Regions from separate parts of the Homo sapiens genome. Here all the other regions are linked to region 1. The links are contacts of gene promoters, found by promoter capture Hi-C in blood cells and fetal thymus (Javierre and others, 2016). All regions are on one chromosome and are shown on one strand. The core of a region is centred on a gene start or on the middle of the fragment in contact, and the rest is flanking DNA. Distances in the headings are between cores, read along the strand shown.

What was found. The method cuts DNA at HindIII sites, captures the fragments that hold promoters and counts their contacts. A CHiCAGO score of 5 or more calls a contact.
Region 2: a contact is called between a fragment that was not itself captured here and the fragment with the promoter of IL3 in region 1, in 4 of 17 cell types (neutrophils, endothelial precursors, erythroblasts and 1 more). The highest score is 8.2, in neutrophils.
Region 3: a fragment that was not itself captured here is called in contact with the fragment with the promoter of IL3 in region 1 in 1 of 17 cell types (neutrophils); the score reaches 7.0 in neutrophils.
Region 4: a fragment that was not itself captured here is called in contact with the fragment with the promoter of IL3 in region 1 in 1 of 17 cell types (erythroblasts); the score reaches 6.0 in erythroblasts.
Region 5: a contact is called between a fragment that was not itself captured here and the fragment with the promoter of IL3 in region 1, in 1 of 17 cell types (neutrophils). The highest score is 8.2, in neutrophils.
Region 6: a contact is called between a fragment that was not itself captured here and the fragment with the promoter of IL3 in region 1, in 2 of 17 cell types (erythroblasts and endothelial precursors). The highest score is 6.1, in erythroblasts.
Region 7: a fragment that was not itself captured here is called in contact with the fragment with the promoter of IL3 in region 1 in 2 of 17 cell types (neutrophils and naive B cells); the score reaches 6.5 in neutrophils.

The regions. Positions count from the first base shown.
Region 1 is chr5:132,059,277-132,061,976 of GRCh38, forward strand. IL3 (interleukin 3) reads left to right here and starts at 1,379. Exons shown (of 5, transcript NM_000588.4): 1 at 1,379-1,592; 2 at 1,691-1,732. The coding sequence starts at 1,431. LOC105379174 (a long non-coding RNA gene) reads right to left here. Exons shown (of 5, transcript XR_001742531.2): 2 at 2,195-2,332. The HindIII fragment of the contact is 14,005 bases long and covers 1-2,700 here.
Region 2 is chr5:131,448,353-131,451,052 of GRCh38, forward strand. All of the region lies in intron 21 of RAPGEF6 (Rap guanine nucleotide exchange factor 6), which reads right to left. Among named protein-coding and RNA genes, the nearest start is that of RAPGEF6, 190 kb to the right of the region's middle. The HindIII fragment of the contact is 1,238 bases long and covers 723-1,960 here.
Region 3 is chr5:131,471,086-131,473,785 of GRCh38, forward strand. It overlaps RAPGEF6 (Rap guanine nucleotide exchange factor 6), which reads right to left. Exons shown (of 28, transcript NM_016340.6): 17 at 1,502-1,659. Among named protein-coding and RNA genes, the nearest start is that of RAPGEF6, 160 kb to the right of the region's middle. The HindIII fragment of the contact is 3,156 bases long and covers 1-2,700 here.
Region 4 is chr5:131,497,218-131,499,917 of GRCh38, forward strand. It overlaps RAPGEF6 (Rap guanine nucleotide exchange factor 6), which reads right to left. Exons shown (of 28, transcript NM_016340.6): 12 at 1,226-1,390. Among named protein-coding and RNA genes, the nearest start is that of RAPGEF6, 140 kb to the right of the region's middle. The HindIII fragment of the contact is 995 bases long and covers 830-1,824 here.
Region 5 is chr5:131,536,565-131,539,264 of GRCh38, forward strand. The region is part of intron 6 of RAPGEF6 (Rap guanine nucleotide exchange factor 6); the gene reads right to left. Among named protein-coding and RNA genes, the nearest start is that of RAPGEF6, 97 kb to the right of the region's middle. RefSeq lists a silencer at 1-226 and an enhancer at 1-211. The HindIII fragment of the contact is 2,663 bases long and covers 99-2,700 here.
Region 6 is chr5:131,427,577-131,430,276 of GRCh38, forward strand. It overlaps RAPGEF6 (Rap guanine nucleotide exchange factor 6), which reads right to left. Exons shown (of 28, transcript NM_016340.6): 27 at 1,326-1,640. Among named protein-coding and RNA genes, the nearest start is that of CDC42SE2, 160 kb to the left of the region's middle. The HindIII fragment of the contact is 1,088 bases long and covers 808-1,895 here.
Region 7 is chr5:131,520,094-131,522,793 of GRCh38, forward strand. RAPGEF6 (Rap guanine nucleotide exchange factor 6) reads right to left here. Exons shown (of 28, transcript NM_016340.6): 7 at 1,297-1,428. Among named protein-coding and RNA genes, the nearest start is that of RAPGEF6, 110 kb to the right of the region's middle. The HindIII fragment of the contact is 302 bases long and covers 1,164-1,465 here.

The DNA.
Region 1 (2,700 bases), core at 129-2,628:
ATGCTCAGAAGCCCAAAGCACCCAAATTCCGCTGCCTCAGCATAACCTCCTATCCCGCATCCCCCACACTGATCACAACACACCGCACCATGACCCAGACCCTGGCCTTTCCTTACTGCTCTCCTCTCCCTCCCACCCGGGGCCAGTCATCTTGAAGAAGTCTTCCACATGCCCCTGTCACACTCATCCCTTTACCAAAAGCCCCTACCCCATGGGGTGGGTCAGGCAGGCCCCAAGACAGGCCCGTATCAGGAGGACCCCTCTTCTCTCAGGGGCTGCCCTCTGGGATAACCACCCCCGCCCTTCTGGGTTTCCTGCTTCCTATCTGGCTGCAGTTTCTCAGGTCCCTTGTGGATTTCCCCATGGTCTGTCCCCACTCACATCCCCTCTCTGCAAACCTTGCCTACTGGGCCTGCACCTGGCAAATCCATGCTCAGCACAGACGGGGATCAAGACCTCTCAATACAACTGTCTCCTGCCAATCCCTGCCCCAGCAGCCTGAGGCCCAGTCTGAAACCAGGGAGTTGCTCTCCTTTCTCCTCCCTTGACCTCACCCCTCAGACCATGCCAATTCTGCCTCCTAAACCTCCCAGGCCAGCCCCTCCCCCAGCTCCCAGTGACAGTGTCCTCAGGTACCTGAGCTCAGCTCTCGGTGCTACCAGAGGGACTGCCAGGGGCTGCAGCCGGGCCTCCTGCAGAGGCTGAGTCCCACACGCAGGGAACAGCCATGCCACTGCTAGCAGACCAGTAAGAGAATGGCCACCTGGGGCCTGAGCGCCCTCGGCCATCCACCAGAAACAAAGTGTCAAGGAGAAGCTGCCCGAAGCCCATGGGACAAACCACTGGGGACTGGAACACCAGTAATTCTGTATTGGGAAGCGGCACCAAGAGATGTGCTTCTCAGAGCCTGAGGCTGAACGTGGATGTTTAGCAGCGTGACCGGCTACCAGACAAACTCTCATCTGTTCCAGTGGCCTCCTGGCCACCCACCAGGACCAAGCAGGGCGGGCAGCAGAGGGCCAGGGTAGTCCAGGTGATGGCAGATGAGATCCCACTGGGCAGGAGGCCTCAGTGAGCTGAGTCAGGCTTCCCCTTCCTGCCACAGGGGTCCTCTCACCTGCTGCCATGCTTCCCATCTCTCATCCTCCTTGACAAGATGAAGTGATACCGTTTAAGTAATCTTTTTTCTTGTTTCACTGATCTTGAGTACTAGAAAGTCATGGATGAATAATTACGTCTGTGGTTTTCTATGGAGGTTCCATGTCAGATAAAGATCCTTCCGACGCCTGCCCCACACCACCACCTCCCCCCGCCTTGCCCGGGGTTGTGGGCACCTTGCTGCTGCACATATAAGGCGGGAGGCTGTTGCCAACTCTTCAGAGCCCCACGAAGGACCAGAACAAGACAGAGTGCCTCCTGCCGATCCAAACATGAGCCGCCTGCCCGTCCTGCTCCTGCTCCAACTCCTGGTCCGCCCCGGACTCCAAGCTCCCATGACCCAGACAACGCCCTTGAAGACAAGCTGGGTTAACTGCTCTAACATGATCGATGAAATTATAACACACTTAAAGCAGCCACCTTTGCCTTTGCTGGTGAGTAGCTTGGATAAGACTGGCCTGCAGCAGTGAGGGGTGGTGGCTGCCTAAGGCCAAAAGGCCTCATGGGCCTTTCTCTCCCTTCACCCCCACAGGACTTCAACAACCTCAATGGGGAAGACCAAGACATTCTGATGGTAAGAGCTCAGCCCGTGGATCCCGATCCACTTCCTGCCTGGGTGACTTCAGCCATGTCATTCCATCTTACCTAGCCTTGCTTTCTTCATCTGTAAAATAGGGTTAATAGCACCTATCTCAGTGGGATTGTTATGACAATCAAATGGCACAATGTGCATGTTCTGGCCCAGCATCTGGCACTTAAGAGTTCAATACATGGCCACAGCCATGGCTATAATAATGAAAATGACTTTTAAATTAGAAAATGAAAAGGCAGTTCTAGGTGAGGAATACCAAGGGCCTTAAGGTCAGTGTTTGGTAGGGCAGACTCTGGACTGACAGACAGAAATTTCCCCCTCAGATGTGCCAGCTTCTTTTTCCCTTAAAAAATTGAGTTTGTGTTTTCCACCCTCATTGGCTGTGGCATTATCATTTACAGTTATTTTTCATGGTTCCAGTTGGTTGCAGTTGTTCTGTCTCACCTTTGCATGACATTTCTTGGGTCAAACAAGAAGTGGAAGCCTTTGCTGAGTTCCTGGGCCATCTGTGTTTGGGGCACTCACAGCTCACATGCTGCACCCATTTCCATGCTGGGGTCTCTGTGATTTTCTTCTTGATTTCTAGGAGACTTTAATTCAGTCAGGGCATGAACACTGTTATCAGCCTCTGAGCTACAAATACTTCCCTTGGAAAACCCCCTGTCTTTTGTAGAGCTTCTTTTTGGAGATATTTTTTCCCCCAAGTGCAGAAAGATCCACCTAGGTACCCCCTCCCCACCCATTTTTTTTTTTTTTTTTGAGACAAGAGTCTCACTCTGTTGCCCAGGCTGGAGTGCAGTGGCACGATCTCAGCTCACTGCTACCTCTGCCTCCTGAGTTCAAGCAATTCTCCTGTCTCAGCCTCCCAAGTAGCTAGGATTACAGGCATGCACCACCACTCCCATTTTTGTATTTTTAGTAGAGACGGGGTTTCACCATATTGGTCAGGC
Region 2 (2,700 bases), core at 92-2,591, 610 kb before region 1:
AGTTTTCACACTGTGATAAAAATCCATAGCCAAGTCCATAAGAGCTCCTTCAATAAGCATAAAGTAGAAATTCTCAGTGGTAACAGGATACTGCAGTGATTTTCCTTAGTAGTAGATAAAATAACAATATGTCCAACAATTGACGTTGTCTTGAATTCAAAGAAATGCAGTAAAATCAAGTTGCAGCTATTTAGGAGCAAATTTTAACACAAATATTTAATGATTTTTATCTTAGTTAATATAAAAAAGTAGGTGTTGACAAATCTAGGAGACACAAAATTCTAACAAATAAAAACACTGTGATAAACGTCGATAAAATGTTTTCTAAACTACTTTGAAAACAGAAAATTGCTGATATAAAATAAATATACCTAATGTTTGTAAGCATCATACAGTGTAACCCTAAAGCTGAATGAACGTGAAACATGTTAACATAAGTCATTCAAACACACCCAATGCCCACTAAAAGATATTGTCCAAGTATTCTTCTTTATAATAGTAATGCCAGGTATCAATTTCTATTTTCAGTGAGAAGAGCCAAAAGAGACCAAGACATAAATTTGCGATCCAGAAGAAAACACATGGGAAACACACAGAGAAGGGAGAAAGAAAATAGAAGGAAAGTCAAGTTCACCAAGCATTAACAGAAAATAAGACCACAAATGAGGCAAGACTCGAATAAAGAAGGTGGCTCACAAAAAATTCTTCTTACATGTAATAAAAGCTTCTAACTTCATGGTTCACTACAAGTCTTAAAATAACAAAATTCTTCTTATGCAATCCCTTCATCCACAAAAGTCATCTCTTTCTTCATCTAAAAATGAAAGGACTAGATAGATGATATATAAGATCTTTAACATTCTATGATTCTAAATAGACACTTAGCTATGTAGAAGTAGAGACCTAACTCTATAACAAATAGTGTCAGTTGCTGATTCTATCACAACTTTAAAGATAAGGGAATCTTCAATTAAAGCTGGTAAAAATTTCAAATAAAATTCAGTCAATGCTACAAGTAAGTGGCATTAGTGGGTCTGAGGAAATAAAATCATCTTCTAGTTCAATTTTATAGTACAGCTTGGATAAGGGCTGCCTCTTTTTAGAAAACTGATGGAAAATGCAACCTTCACAAACATCTTTCATTCATTTTTATATATTTATATGATATATTTACTTTTATAAAATGTGGCATTTGAATAAAAGAAAGTGGTGTGAACTCTAGAACTAGACTACCTAGTTTTGGATCCACCATTAATGAACTAAAACTTTAGGCAACTCAACCTTTCCCATCCATACTATGGAAAGAAAAGTATCTCCTTTATAGGGTAGTAGTAGAATTAAGTAAGATAATTCGTTTAGAGTGCTTAGAACAATGTATGGCACATAGCAAGCACACAACAAATATTCACTATCATTATCATCATCTAACTGACCTAGCTAAATCAAAATCTAAAAAGGACTTATAGGGCATCAATAGTGGAAAAATAAAGGAAAAATAGCTAGTTCTATCACTACTTTCACCTTGTTAGCAGAAGGCATTTGTCAGGAATGTAGGCTGACAGGGTTAATAGAATTCATGCTATTTTATGTGCGTGCATTAATGAAAAGGATGCAATATATGTTAAGAGTCGCACAACCTTCATTCCAGTTGCGTTCATCTCTACACTTACCCCAGACTCCGCCACCTCTTCTTCCTGTAAGCAAGAGCCACAAACATTGAAGCATGTGTTTGAATAGGAAAGCACAGAAAAAAGACAACAGTTGAGAGTCAGAGAAACTATGCAGACAGAAAAGAACAGAAACATTTTATCAGGAAAAAATTACAGCTTAACAGTAAAATGACTTTAAATGGAAGGCAGGAGGGTAAGATGAGTATATACTGAAGGTCAAAAAAGCTCCAAAATACTTTATAAAAATATGCTTTAGACCAATTATATTTTAAATACCTAATTCATCAGGAAGCTTATATAAATAAGAAGCTTAAGGAAAAACATTTACTTACTATAATATAAATTTTGAATTCAAAGTTTTTAAGGGAAAAGACCTTAAAGGAATAGAATTTCTGAACATCTTGCTGGCAAGATTTTTGGGCCACTCATTTAAGTGACAGAATGAAATTACAAGGGACATAAAAACATAAAATTTCATTTTTAAGTGCAGAAATTTCTGACAAGATGTCTTGTAAGAAATGTTGACCAGCAAATCCAACTTAAAATGTAAGAAAAAACATATCATTAAAATCTTCATAATACTATATATCTTTACATTCCTGTTTGATTGACTAAAGATTCTATTTTTTAAGTCTGCAAATTGATTACTGTTAAAAGGGGTTACTTTGTCCAAACTAGATACTCATACACCACCAAAATGGACATTGTTTGCTTAAAGAAAGGTATTACATTTTAGCACTGGCTGACAAAACTGATTCAGGAAAAATTCAGTCCAATCTTTAAAAAAGATGTTTTTTATTTTCCCCCAATACCTTATTGTATTCAATCCAGGCCATTCCCAAGAAAACAGCCATGTTTATTAATTTCCTCATCAGTTTTTCTCCTTTGCTCATTACTGAAGTATGGCTAGTACTTAGTATATTATAAACTGGTCTGGCAGGGTCACAAATTCATCATGTCTTCAGGAATCAGGATGTTAACATGTGTAAGTAAATAGAGGTCCACATAAGCCAATAGAGAGTGTTAGGGT
Region 3 (2,700 bases), core at 48-2,547, 590 kb before region 1:
ACTTTATACTTTGGTAACAATCTTCACATTAACTTCGGATCAAATAACTGGAGTGTCTTCTGTCTCATGAATGACATTTCACTAATATAAAAATCACTACAAATGTCTTAGGAAAGTAATGACTCATTAAATCTTTGTTCTAAAAAGAACACTGGTAGCCATGTAGAGAGTGTGATGTGCCAGAACAGGTTACTGGGTTTAATAATCGCTCTAGTGGTTAAGTGGCAACTGAAATATAAAGGAAGAAACCATGTGCAGAATGACCTTCACTAAACTGTTATTAGGTTATGTCCTGAGGTTTTTATTTAAGTTGCTATAATAAAACATGAACTTTACTACTGTACTTATATTTCCTTCTAATACCGAGATGGAACTAAGTTTCCTCCCTTTCTACACTAGCTGCTAGGAACTTTAGAGTCAAAATTGAAGGTGAATCAGAACTATGCTTATCTTTGTAGAAGCATTTTTTCTCCCACCTTTCCTTGGACCCAATTATATGTTTCAGTGCTTAATTGTATATGCCTTTTATTGAAAACCATCTCAAATCCGTTAAGTGATGGATATATAATTATTCAAAGTCGAAAGTTTTCTTCTTTGTAACAAAACTTTAGATTATATAACTGTGACAATTTTTGCCTCAAGACATGAATAGACGCAAAAAAAAAATAACTTGACATCCCACACTGGAAGTCCAAACAACAATGAAAATTATGCTATAACGCTCTGATAACAATACATGACAAATACAACTTCAGCTTCAAGTGTCTGAGGAAAAATCTGCTTTTACAAAATTACTAACACTTTTCTGTGTATTATAGAAAAAGGTAAGTGAGGCCACTTAGATTAAAATAATCTCCCTTATTCTTTTCCACACCCTGGGTAAGATATATCTTGCCTGAGAAGTGTCTCTGTTTTCATTCTACTGCTTAGATTAGGATTACTAAAAGATACCTAATTCTGTGGTTAGAGGTAGTCTCTTTTTTCTTTTCTTTTTTTTTTTTTTTGAGACGGAGTCTTGCTCTGTCGCCCAGGCTGGAGTGCAGTGGTCCGATCTCGGCTCACTGCAAGCTCTGCCTCCCGGGTTCACGCCATTCTCCTGCCTCAGCCTCCCAAGTAGCTGGGACTACAGGCACCCACCATCACGTCTGGCTAATTTTTTGTATTTTTAGTAGAGATGGTGTTTCACCATGTTAGCCAGGATGGTCTCAATCTCCTGACCTCATGATCCGCCCGCCTCGGCCTCCCAAAGTGCTGGGATTACAGGCGTGAGCCACTGCGCCTGGCCAGAGGTAGTCTCTTTTTTATGTACTTCTGTTTCACTTTAGAGGAAGTACCATTCAAATTAACAGAACAAGTCAATCTCCCTTTAGTTTTTTGCATCAAGTCATAATCTAGAGTTAAGAGGGCTGCAAGTAACTCTAGCACTTGCTGCACAAGGCTTAACCATCTATTTGTTCATTTGGTACCAATACGGCAATATAAAATCACATATGAAAATTACCTGAAGGATTGGAAAAATCCAACATACTGGTGGTAGGCTGCAGGAGATCAGGGCTGCTGGATGAGAGTGTTCCAGGGATGGGCATTATAGCCAGACTATGCCTACAGTGCCTTGTTCCCACAATGCTGTCATCTTGTGATTGGCTTAGGCCTCCATCACTTCAAAAGAATGTCATATATCACTTTAAAGTATTTGAGAGTACTTAAGTAGTAAACGTTTCTGTTCCCTGTGCACTAAGGCATAAAAGAACCAATTCAAAGAGGTGATTTAAACAACTGAAATACTACAGCAATTTTTAAAAGACAATTGTAATGATGAAAATGGCACTAAAATTTTTAACAATTACATTAAAATAAAATCTAACTTATACATCTAAGTAATTCTACTACATCCTAATTAAATTGTCTTATTTAGTGTCTACCAGTTTGGGTGAAGAAACTGAACCTGAGTATTTAGGGAACCCTTCAAATTTGCCAGTTTTAGTGGACACTAATACATGTATCCAAATATGCACAGCCACACCATAGCAAGGTGTTCTCTTTCTCTTTCCCTTTCTCCAGAAAATCTTGGTGATCCTCTAGGAAAAAGAGTCTACATTCAAACCAAAAACTATGGCAGGTAATAGATAACAATGGGGCCAAGGTCAAGTGACAAAGTAAGAGTGGTCTTTAAACACTGGACCAGAAAAAAAATAGAATTATGAAAATTACAGTCTCTAAAGTTCATTCTAAGGGTACATTATTTCTTATTTAATCTCTCAAGTCTAATTATTTAAGCAAACAAAATATTCTTCCTTTAAAATATTTTAGAAATGTGACATAGGCAACTTCTAAATCCACCTAGAGAAAAAATAAAAACAAAGAAACAAACACTGTCACTTAGGTTTTAGATACCCCCAAATTTTAGCTTACTTTTAAGCAAAACAGTCCTATAAAAACATAAGATAGCAGTGAAAAAAATTTCCATCAACATCAATAACCAAAAACTACTTCTAAGGGTTGTACTTACATTAAAACCAATGCTCTGTTACTATTAATTCTTGTCTATATTTTATCAAATGCAGCATTCTGCCTAGTACTTGCTATACATACCAACAGAAGTATCACAGAATACTTACCTATTATCATGAAAAAGATTAAAGTATAGTATTATAAATGAATAATATGAAATACATTTAAATTACACTAGATGTAAAATAT
Region 4 (2,700 bases), core at 77-2,576, 560 kb before region 1:
TGCTGTCTTTTCGTTGTTGAGTTGTAAAAGTTCTTTATGTATTTTGGATATTAAACCTTTATCAGATATATAATTTTCTCTTATTCTGTGCATTGTCTTAACTTTCTGGACAGTGTCCTTTGATGCAAAAATAATTTTAATTTTGATGAGGTCCAATTATCTCTTTTTTCTTTTGTTGCTTGTGCTTGGGTATCATATTTTCATATTTGAGAAACCAACGCCAAATCCAAGGCCATGATAATCTACCCCTATCTTTAAGGCATTATAGTTTTAGCTCTTCTGTCTCTGACCCATTTTGGGTACATTTTTGTTTATAGTATAAGGTGGTAATCCATTTTCATTCTTTTGCATATGGATAATTATCACTAAATCATATTCTTGTTCATTTCCAAAGCATGCCTTTATTTTCTTGGCAACCAAGGTAAATATATTTAATTCTAAGAAAAAGGGTGAGAGGTGTGCAAGCCTGTAGTTTTAGATGTTAGTCTCCTAAATAAAAGAATTCTGCAGTTTACCTGCAACTAGTTTATTTCCTTTAAAATATAACTCAAAAAGACACACCAGACAATTATGATCCTACTTTTATTTTCTTGAAACAACTTATTTCTTACCAATTTGTGGAAGTATTACTAGTCTTTCCATTAAATGTGCAAACATATCCCATGAAATAAGCTAATTTATTTAAAATAGTGAACAACATTTAATACAAAAAAATACTCAAAAGGTAGATTTAAATAAGTCACAGGAGAGACATATTAAGGTTTGATAAATTGTTTTCAAATGATTGTGAAGTCTGTAACTCAAGAAAATAAAAATATTCCCATTTTGAAGCTTAAAAGCAATCTGCCCTCTTAAAAAAATGTATTTGATGAATATTCTTTCTAAAATATTAAATCCGTTTTAAAATGTTTTATTGATCTCCAGAAACAATCAAGTATTTCAGTAAAATTCTAAAATACTCTCATGTAACTATTATGTTTCCTGAACCTATAGCTATACCAGAGCTTTATTTCAGTTTTTGCCTTTTAAGGCTCTCGTCCACTTTTAGCATGCTATTCTGTCATAAAAGTAAGCAGAGAATGTTTATACTGATGGTTCAGGTTCATTAATTTTTTTAGGTGTACTGAATCTTATTATCATAATAAACAGGTAATCTATCAACTATAAAAGTTTCATGAATAAAATTTTGGGTTAAAATCACTTTCATGCCCCTTATAAAACCAACCTTATCTCTTAAGCTGTCGATCTTAAACCATTCCAATAGTTTGATCCCAACATCCAAAGGACTTTCAAGAAATGTCCTGTAAGTTAATAGAAAATCTTCTATATAAGTTGGATCCACGATGGAATGTTCTTCTATTAAATGCATTATGAGACGCTCAGGTGTTGCCTAAAAATCCAAGGATAGGAAGGATTAGAAAATAAACAAATGACCCAAGAACCAAAGAACTATTGTTGATTACTCCGCTTTGTAGCTACTCCATTAGACAAATCGTCAAAGTACAGTTTCGCCTTTAAATCCTTAGCGCTGGGAGAATTGGAATGCAAACTTAATTGTAATCCACCAGCACCCAGAGGTTGAGAGACAGAAAAGGCAGAGAAATAAATAGCCAACAGCACTCACTCAGCTGAAGCTGTTTTCACTGGCATTTCATCATAGCAGGACCTTTGAACTTCACTAACTTAGCCCTGGTGTGGGCTGTTACTGCCACTTCTCCTACAACCAGGGCATGTATTTATTGTCTCAAGGCAACAAAAGAGGTGAAAGTTAAACTAAAGAAAGAAAGAAAAAGAAAGGAATGAAAGGGAAGAAAGAAAAAAGAAAGCTTTTCTCCAAATTTAATCCACCTCAAAAATCTTTTCTGACCAGGCTGTAGGAAGAACACACCAGTTCAAGAGAGCCTGTTTCATTATTGTTACTTCCCAGAATAAATATTTCCTTTTCTACAGTTCCTCTCATACAGTTTCCTCTCCATGCTAGGTCACCATATTGAGAGGAACCAGAAGTTCTACAGACAGTTTTGAAATTAATTCAGAGTTTTAAATGCTTGTTTCCAACTTTATAAAAGAATATAAACAGGCTGGGCGTGGTGTGGCTCATGCCTGTAATCCCAGCACTTTGGGAGGCCAAGGAGAGCAGAACACCTGAGGTCCACAGTTCAAGACCAGCCTGGCCAACATGGTGAAACCCCGTCTCTACTAAAAATACAAAAATTGGCTGGGTGTGGTGGCCGGCGCCTATAATCCCAGCTACTCAGGAGGGTGAGGCAGCAGAATTGCTTGAACCCGGGAGGTGGAGGTTGCAGAGAGCGGAGATCATGCCACTGCACTCCAGCTGGGGCGACAAGAGCGAGACTTTGTCTCAAAAAAAAAAAAAAAAAAAAAAGAATATAAACAAAAATTTCCATACTGCTCTTCTTTGAGCTTCTGAACCAATGTTTATTACCCTTTGTAGCTTTTTCAAAGGTTGGTACAAGAACAAATACAGAAACAAACAAGATGTTAAGCCTGATATAAAAACTGTTATCCATAACACCCAACCTTCAATTTGTTGCAGTCATCCAAACAATTTCATTGTTTAGAATAACTGTGTGGTAAACATACATTAATACTAACAATGTTCTTTATCTAAGAATCTATTAAAAATAAAAAGGTACTTTATTTATTAAAAGGTACTTTATTTTTATTTATTTATTTTTG
Region 5 (2,700 bases), core at 180-2,679, 520 kb before region 1:
ACACATGCACTATGAAATATGATCCACCCTTAGGGAGTAATAGAGGAAGAAAAACCAAGAAGGAGAGAGAAACCGTCATCATCAACCAAGGTGATGTAAGCTTCTATAATTAGAATCAGTGAAATTGAAAGAACAATAAAAGGCACCACTATGCTTCTGCTTTCCGTCTACACTGCGTATCAAGCATCTTCATACCTGCACAAAAGGATACATTTTGTATATAGTTACTCAAGTATATGCAAACCTAAAGTTTCAAACAGCGTATTAATTTTCTTCAAAAAGAGAGTAACATATATAAATGATAAAAAATGAACTCTCATTTAAAACTATCTGTGAATTCCTGGGTTCCTTTATATCCCTTGTTCATAAAGATGACCATTACGTCCCTTCTCTACTTTTAAATACTACATTTTCTAGCACTGTAAAAGCCACATACACAAGATAGCACACTTAATAAACACATACCAAATCAAACTAAAAGGTAATAACGTTAGGTCAGCATTAATTTGTTTGCTATGTCTGAGTAGTTGTTATTCCCCTTCCAACTGGAACACTGTCATAATCAGTCTTAGACCACTGGTATACATTAGTATCTGAGTTGCTTTAAACAATTATCAAAAGCTCCTTCTTTAGCAATTACTCCATAAAATATTTCAAGTATGATAAAAAGTCTTCCTAATTCTGGTTCCCTGGGCAAATCTGTCTGAATTAGTGTCACACCATTAAGGGAGGAAGAACTGCCCCAGACAACCAGAGGGGCATGCCCTGCTCTGGTCCTCTCAGTACTCAAGCATTTTATACATAGTGAATAATAAAGACAATTTTAAAATGCCTATTGAGAAGTTACCAATATTCATGTAGAAACTTAAAATAATTTTCATACCTTTAACCCAGTAATTTCTGTAACTCAATCCTAAGGAAATAATCAGTCATGTACAGATTTTTCCCTAAAAGTTGTTTGTAATAGGAGAAAAATTGGAAGCCACGTGAGAATACTTCGTTACACTCATACAGCATTATATTAATATTGAAAGTAATGTTTTGGAAAAAATTTAACTGCATGAGAAACACAAACACAAGGATACATAACTAAACATTCAGCATCATCTAAATTAATTAAAATATTTAAATTAATCAAAAGATATATACAGTCAGCCCTCTGTGTCCATGGGTTCTGTACCTGCAGATTGAAGAAACTGCAGACAGAAAATATTTTGGGAAAATCCCATTAAAAATAACAGTAGAGGCTGGGGGTGGTGGTGATTACATCTGTAATCCCAACAGTTTGGGAGGCCGAGGCAGGCTATTGCTGGAGCCCACGAGTTCAAGACCAACCTGAAAAACATGATGAAACTCCGTCTCTACAAAAAAAAACAAAGTTAGCTGGGTGTGGAGGCATGTGCCTATAATCCCAGCTACTCAGGAGGCTGAGGTGAGAGGATCCCTTGAGTTGGGAGGTCAAAGCTGCAATGAGCTGTGATCATTCCACTGCATTCTAGTCTAGTTGACAGCGAGACCGTCTCAAATAAAACCTAAAAAACCAAAAACAAAAAACCACTACAACAATAAAAAAAACTACAAATTTCAGTATAGCAACTATCTACACTGCATTTACACTGTATTAGGTATTATAAGTAATCTAGAAATGATTCAAAATACAGTCATGCATTGCTTAACAACTGGGGTACATTCTGAGGAATGTGTCATTAGGCAATTTCATCCTTGGGCAAACATCACTGAGTGTAGCTACAGAAACCTAGACGGTATAGCCTACTATACACCTAGGCTACATGGTACAGCCTATGGTTCCCAGGCTATGAACCTGCTCAGCATGTTACTCTACTGAATAATGCAGGCAACTGTAACACAATGGTAAGTATTTGTGTATCTAAACACAGAAAACGTACAGTAAAAACAGGCAGCAAAATCTGATGTCATTTATGTGGTCTGTCATTACGCAACACATGACTGTATATGGAAGGATGTGCATAGATTACACAAAAATACTACACCATTTTATAAAAGGGACTCGAACATCCTCGAATTTTAGTATCTGCAGGGGGTCCTGAAACCAAGCCCCCATGGATACTGAGGGACCATGGTACATTAAAAAAATTTTAAGTGACAGTAGCTATCTCCAGTTTTGAGGATGACAGCAAATTCATTTCCTTCTTCATACTCTTCTATATATTTTACATTTCTACAATAAGCATTTCTTCACAAAATTAAAACAAAATCTGCTCTAACTTGGCATTTGTCCTAGTTTTAGTTGTATCACTTCTATGCTTTTTGTCTATTTGTGGACTCAATACCTTCTAACTAGGTACAAAAACCTATCAAGAATTCCATATTATTTCCTAGAAGATAAAGGAGGAGTATTCTCCTAAAGGATGTTAGATACTCGTAAACAAAAACAGAAAGTCTTCTTTTGTTTTTAAGGTAGAAAGAATCACAAAGAATATACACCTGTTCAGAGTATTTGGGGCTGTAAATAAAGAGAGAAGAGAAGCAATATTGAAAAGCTGAAGATTCTTAGAGGTGGGGATCCAAACTTCTCAGTAGTAGTGTGATCAGCATTCACTGTCTTATATACAAATAAGATTATCAAAGATCCCATTTGCAAACTTCCTGAGTTTAGAAGTAACAAAAGTCTGTTTATTCATTCATTATTTCATTCTGAAAGTACTTATGAAATACCAT
Region 6 (2,700 bases), core at 102-2,601, 630 kb before region 1:
AAAGTCAGTCAAGACTTTTGCTAATAAAAGGAACTATATCAATAGAATCATTTCAGATAATTTGGCATTTGAAACACAGTTTCAAGTTTCCATGCATTAAGGTAAAATACAATTCCATTAATGTTAAAAGTATCCCATTAGATTGAGCCACTGTTTCATCAAAGATAAGAATATTCCATTTGAGCCACAGGGTACTAGGCACACAGAAATAGGCAGCTTGCCCATTTCATTTAAAAAATACACCATCAGTGCGGGGTACAGTGGCTCACACCCATAACCCCAACTTTGTGGGAGACTGAGGCTGGCAGATTGCTTGAGTCCAGGAGTTCAAGACCAGCCTGGGCAACATGGTAAAATGCTGTCTCAAATACAAAAAATTAGCTGGGTGTGGTGGTGTGTGCCTGTAGTCCCACCTACTTGGGAGGCTGAGGAGGGAGAATTACCTGAGACCAGGAAGTTGAGGCTGCAGTGAGCCACGATCATGCCACTGCACTCCAGCCTGAGTGACACAGCAAGACCTTGTCTCAACAAACAAACAACCCACACCATTGGCTGGGTGTGGTGGCTCACACCTATAATCCCAACACTTTCGGAGGCTGGGGTGGGAGGACTGCTTCAGGCCAGGAGTTCAAAACCAGCCTGGTCAATATAGTGAGACCCTGTCTCTACAAAGGAAAAATTTAACAATGAGCCAGGCATGCTGGTGTGCACCTGTAGTCCCAGCTACTTGGGAGGCTGAGTTGGGAGGACTGCTTGAGCCCAGGAGTCTGAGGCTGTAGTGAGTCATTATTGTGCCACTGCACTCTAAGCTTGGGCAACAGAGTTAGACCCTATCTTGAAAAATAAAACAAAACCAAAACACTCCCCCATACTATATTTAGGAACTTTTTTTTTTTTTTTGGAGACAGAGTTTTGTTCTTGTTGTCCAGGCTGGAGTGCAATGGTGCGATCTTGGCTCACTGCAATCTCTGCCTCCCAGGTTCAAGCAATTCTCCTGCCTCAGCCTCCCGAGTAGCTGGGATTACAGGCATGCGCCATAATGCCTGGCTGATTTTGTATTTTTTTAGTAGAGACGGGGTTTCTCCATGTTGGACAGGCTGGTCAGGAACTCCCGACCTCAGGTGATTCGCCCGCCTCAGCCTCCCAAAGTGCTGGGATTACAGGTGTGAGCCACTGCACCCTGCCGGCAGGAACTTCTTACTTTTTAACAGAGATTCAAGGCATTTAAAGAAACAATTACTAATTACCATAAAATACCAAAGTAAAGACCATTTAATGTGTTCAGCAATTCATTTAAGAGCCTTTAAGAGAGCTTGTCAACATACCATCTGCTTCGCTATCTGCATCAGTCACATCTCCTAGTTTAGGATGGAATGGCTGCAAATTATGCCTCTGAGGCTGAGTTACAATCTTCGATGGAACACAGGCCACGAGGTTGCTACTGAGAGAAGCTGGTGGCAGTCTAGAGAGGCTGTTATGCATCATCTTTGACCTCTGCACTGCCACACTATAATCTGGAGGTTTTAGGTGTGTGTGGGGTCCTTCCTTTAGGTCCGCTAAAGAAATCCCCAAATATCCTGGAGGAGTGGGAGGTGGCTCCCTATACCTATCGTCCTTCTTGGGTGAGGTGACACAGTACACTGGCATGAAAAATAAGCAATGAAAATGTTAATGAAAAAGAAATGGAAAAAAAAAGAAACCACCCCACAAACTTATTACAATGACAAAATACAACTTAAAAATAGACAAAATGAATAAACTTGAATGATGGCAGATCAAAAACATTTTTTAAAAGTTTAATAAACAAACCTCTTTTTAAAATACATAAACAACTATATTAAGTCCTGTAAACATTAAATAGAACGAGAGAGTTGAAGGAGATGACACTGATGACAAGCTTCCTTCTGCAATTCAGCCCCCATATCACAGAAGTACATGACAACTCCTGAAGTCACACCAGCCCTAAAGATATCAGAAACATTTAAAAGTTCACCCTACACACCGATTCTCTGTAAACTGGGAGACTTTACATAGAAATGACATTTGGGCCATCTGTTTAAGGGCTGTTTCACCTTCTCTCTGAGACATGAACCAATGTTTTCTGGCACTCCTGGGCAGATTAGTTCTCAGTCCTAGCATATAAACTTTAACTTTGCTGGTACGGAGGAACTAATTCCTTCAAGAACTTTACTTCTGGCCAGGTGCGGTGGTTCACGCCTGTAATCCCAGCACTTTGGAGGCCGAAGTGGGTGGATCACCTGAGGTGAGAAGTTTGAGACCAGCCTGGCCAACATGAAGCCCCATCTCTACTAAAAATAAAAAAATTAGCTGGGCATGGTGGCAGGCACCTGTAATCCCAGCTACTTGGGAGGCTGAGAGAGGAGAATTGCTTGAACCTGGCAGGCGAAGGTTGCAGTGAGCCGAGGTCATGCCACTGCACTCCAGCCTGGGCAATACAGCAAGAGTCCATCTCAAAAAAAAAAAAAAAAGTTGGAAAAAAATGAATGAGCTAAAAACCCAACCTATAATGCAATTTGACAAGTAACTATAAAATCAGCACATTTCACCTTCACATTTTTAGTAGTTAAATGCGACACCATGACTGTTGCATAAATTTAACAGTTGATTATGATATTAATTCAAAGTAGAGTCATTCCATATAAGTAGAAAAGCAGTTTTATATCCACGTATTTATATAGT
Region 7 (2,700 bases), core at 65-2,564, 540 kb before region 1:
GGGTATTGTCTTTGTTCCATTTTGCATCTGCCTACAAACTTCCCTGAATAGAAGAAGGCTATTTTCCTAAAATATCTCAATCTGGGTAACTTTGTAGAACCAGTCTAAAATGCTTTCCTCAGACAATGATACTATTTCTACAATTCTTAGTATATGGTAGCCACTAGCCGTATGTGGTTATTAGGCACTTAAAACATGGCTAGTCCAAATTGAGATGTGCTGTAACTTTAAATTAAACTCTGTTTTTTGATGACTTAATATGCAAAAGTAATGTAAGGTAACTCATGCATAATGTTAAAACATTAAATACATGTTGTAATTATAGTATTTGGTTATACTGCACTAAATAAAATATATTACTAAAATGAATTTTACCTGTTTCCTTTTATATTTTTTAATGTGGCTACTAGAAAATTTAAAATTAAATACGTGGCTCACATTAAATTTCTATTTGACAGTTCTGAAATAGGTAATATATTTGAATTCCTTAACAAACCAACCCTCAATATCATGCATCCTCTTGTTATTTTATTTAAACTGTTTTATGTTCTATACTCATGATCTCTGACAAAATCAACCACTGGGCTCCACACCCAGGGAACTGCTCCTTACAACTTGCATTAAAGAAGACATCATAGAAGTTCCACTATCTGGATCCTGAAATACTTATTACCCTGGCTTGAACCTAACTTGGGTTCAATCTCAGCAGGATCATGTGAGGATTCTCTCAGTTTATGGGTCTTCCTAGAACCTTCTCCCCAATATTACAATGATCACTGAAAAGCTCAGTAGGTTTGAAATTGTTCCTCTTGGGTTTTAGAAAATGGAAAAGTCCATCAATATTCTCACTAATTTGCTATTTAATTCACGCTAGACTACAACAGAGGCTTTATGGTAGAAAAGCAGCTCTAATTTTCTTCATGACTTCTAACTACAGAAGACATATACAGTCAATTATAACAAAAATCAGCCTTTTTATAAGTTTAAGTTCAGTTATTCCAAGAACTAATTTTTTAACCAAAACAAGCATTAGATATTAATATGGATTCACCTGGATAAATGAAAGAGAACACTAGATTCATACTCTGCTGAACCATACTTAATCATTCTCAAAAGACAGATCACGTCTTTAATCATGCTTACAAATTTGACACAGTATATAAAGCTTATTTTTCTAAAGACCTTACGCTTGAATTTCATACTCTAAAAGATATGTTAACCATCTAAGGCACAATCACAGAATATCTGGCAAATAAAAAAACCATATACGCAGCATACAAATTCCTAAGGTATTACCTGATAGATATCAGATAAACTGCTGCTTCCAGAGTCACTGGCAATGCTACAACCAGACTGACTAGAAGACACATGAGTCACCTGTGGATGAGGGTTTTCTGTGAGATGCATCTTGGTAAGATCAGCTGGAAGCTGAAAAAAAAAATAATTTAAGTTATTCTAAATGTCAAGCTTTACCTTTTTAAGCGGTTTCGACATGTTCAACAAATTTTTATGTACATTACTGTGCAATCTCTTTTTTAACCCAAGTTCTCTACTTTCAGCAAAAAGATCTTTTGAAATAAGAACCATATGGTACTCTCTGAAACTATTAGACAATCCTACAATGGTAAGCTCACTGAACAGTTTTCAAAAGCCATTACTAATGATATTTCAGAGGAAAAACTTGGCCCTTCTATCCTCCCAAATAAAAATATCAGACCTGTCCATTTAAGGGTAGGAATGTTACCCTACACACACACACACACACACACACACACACACACACACACACACACACACACTCTCTCTCTCTCTCACACACACACTCACTCTCCCTCCCTCCCTCCTAATAAAAAATGGTGACTGATACAAGAATAAAACAGCAATATCTTGGAATCAAGTTCAGCTACTGGCAGCAAGACTTAAGACCAGTAACAAGTTGATTACATTAAATATTCCAAAAATTCTGTGAGCATCTTTACACTTAATATTGAATTAGCTTCTAGTTGGCCCCTGAGAGATTTCTTAGTAATCAACATGATTTAATGAATGTCTGTACTAGGCACAGGTATACAAGAAACACAAAAAGTAAATGACTCCACCACCTCATCTTTAATATGGTCGCATTCTTACCAGGTATGCAGGCTGTACAATATATTTCATGCCGTAAAAGAGACATCTCACAAAATACAAGCTACAGAAATTAAGACAATAAACAAACCACTGCATTCCAGAGTAGTAAAAGTTTTGCATAAGAAGTATGCTAATTTATTTTCCAAATGATTTCTCTGCAACTTGCTATTCAGGGCTATCAAAATCAATTTAATTTTTAAAATAGGGTTCCTCATTGCTTTACTAATGAAAAACATTAAAGAAACACACACATAGTGTATATTAAATGTATTCTGAGGGAATGACTGAGTCTGAATTATGTTATCTCAAGAGGAGTTAATGTAATTATAAAAATTACACATAAAGTACATCACGAACTTCCCCTGCTGATAATGGTATGTTAGATAATTCAGACGAATCCTAGTACTAAGACAAACAGAAAACCTGAAGTACATACATACATACACACACACACAGTATCTGGCCTCTGACGTTACTTTTTCTCCTAAGAATATTTTCTGATTCCTAAAGAAAAGGCTAAAAGGCCAAGAAGTACCTGTGACAGCCACTGGCTAAAGGGACAAAAGTTAA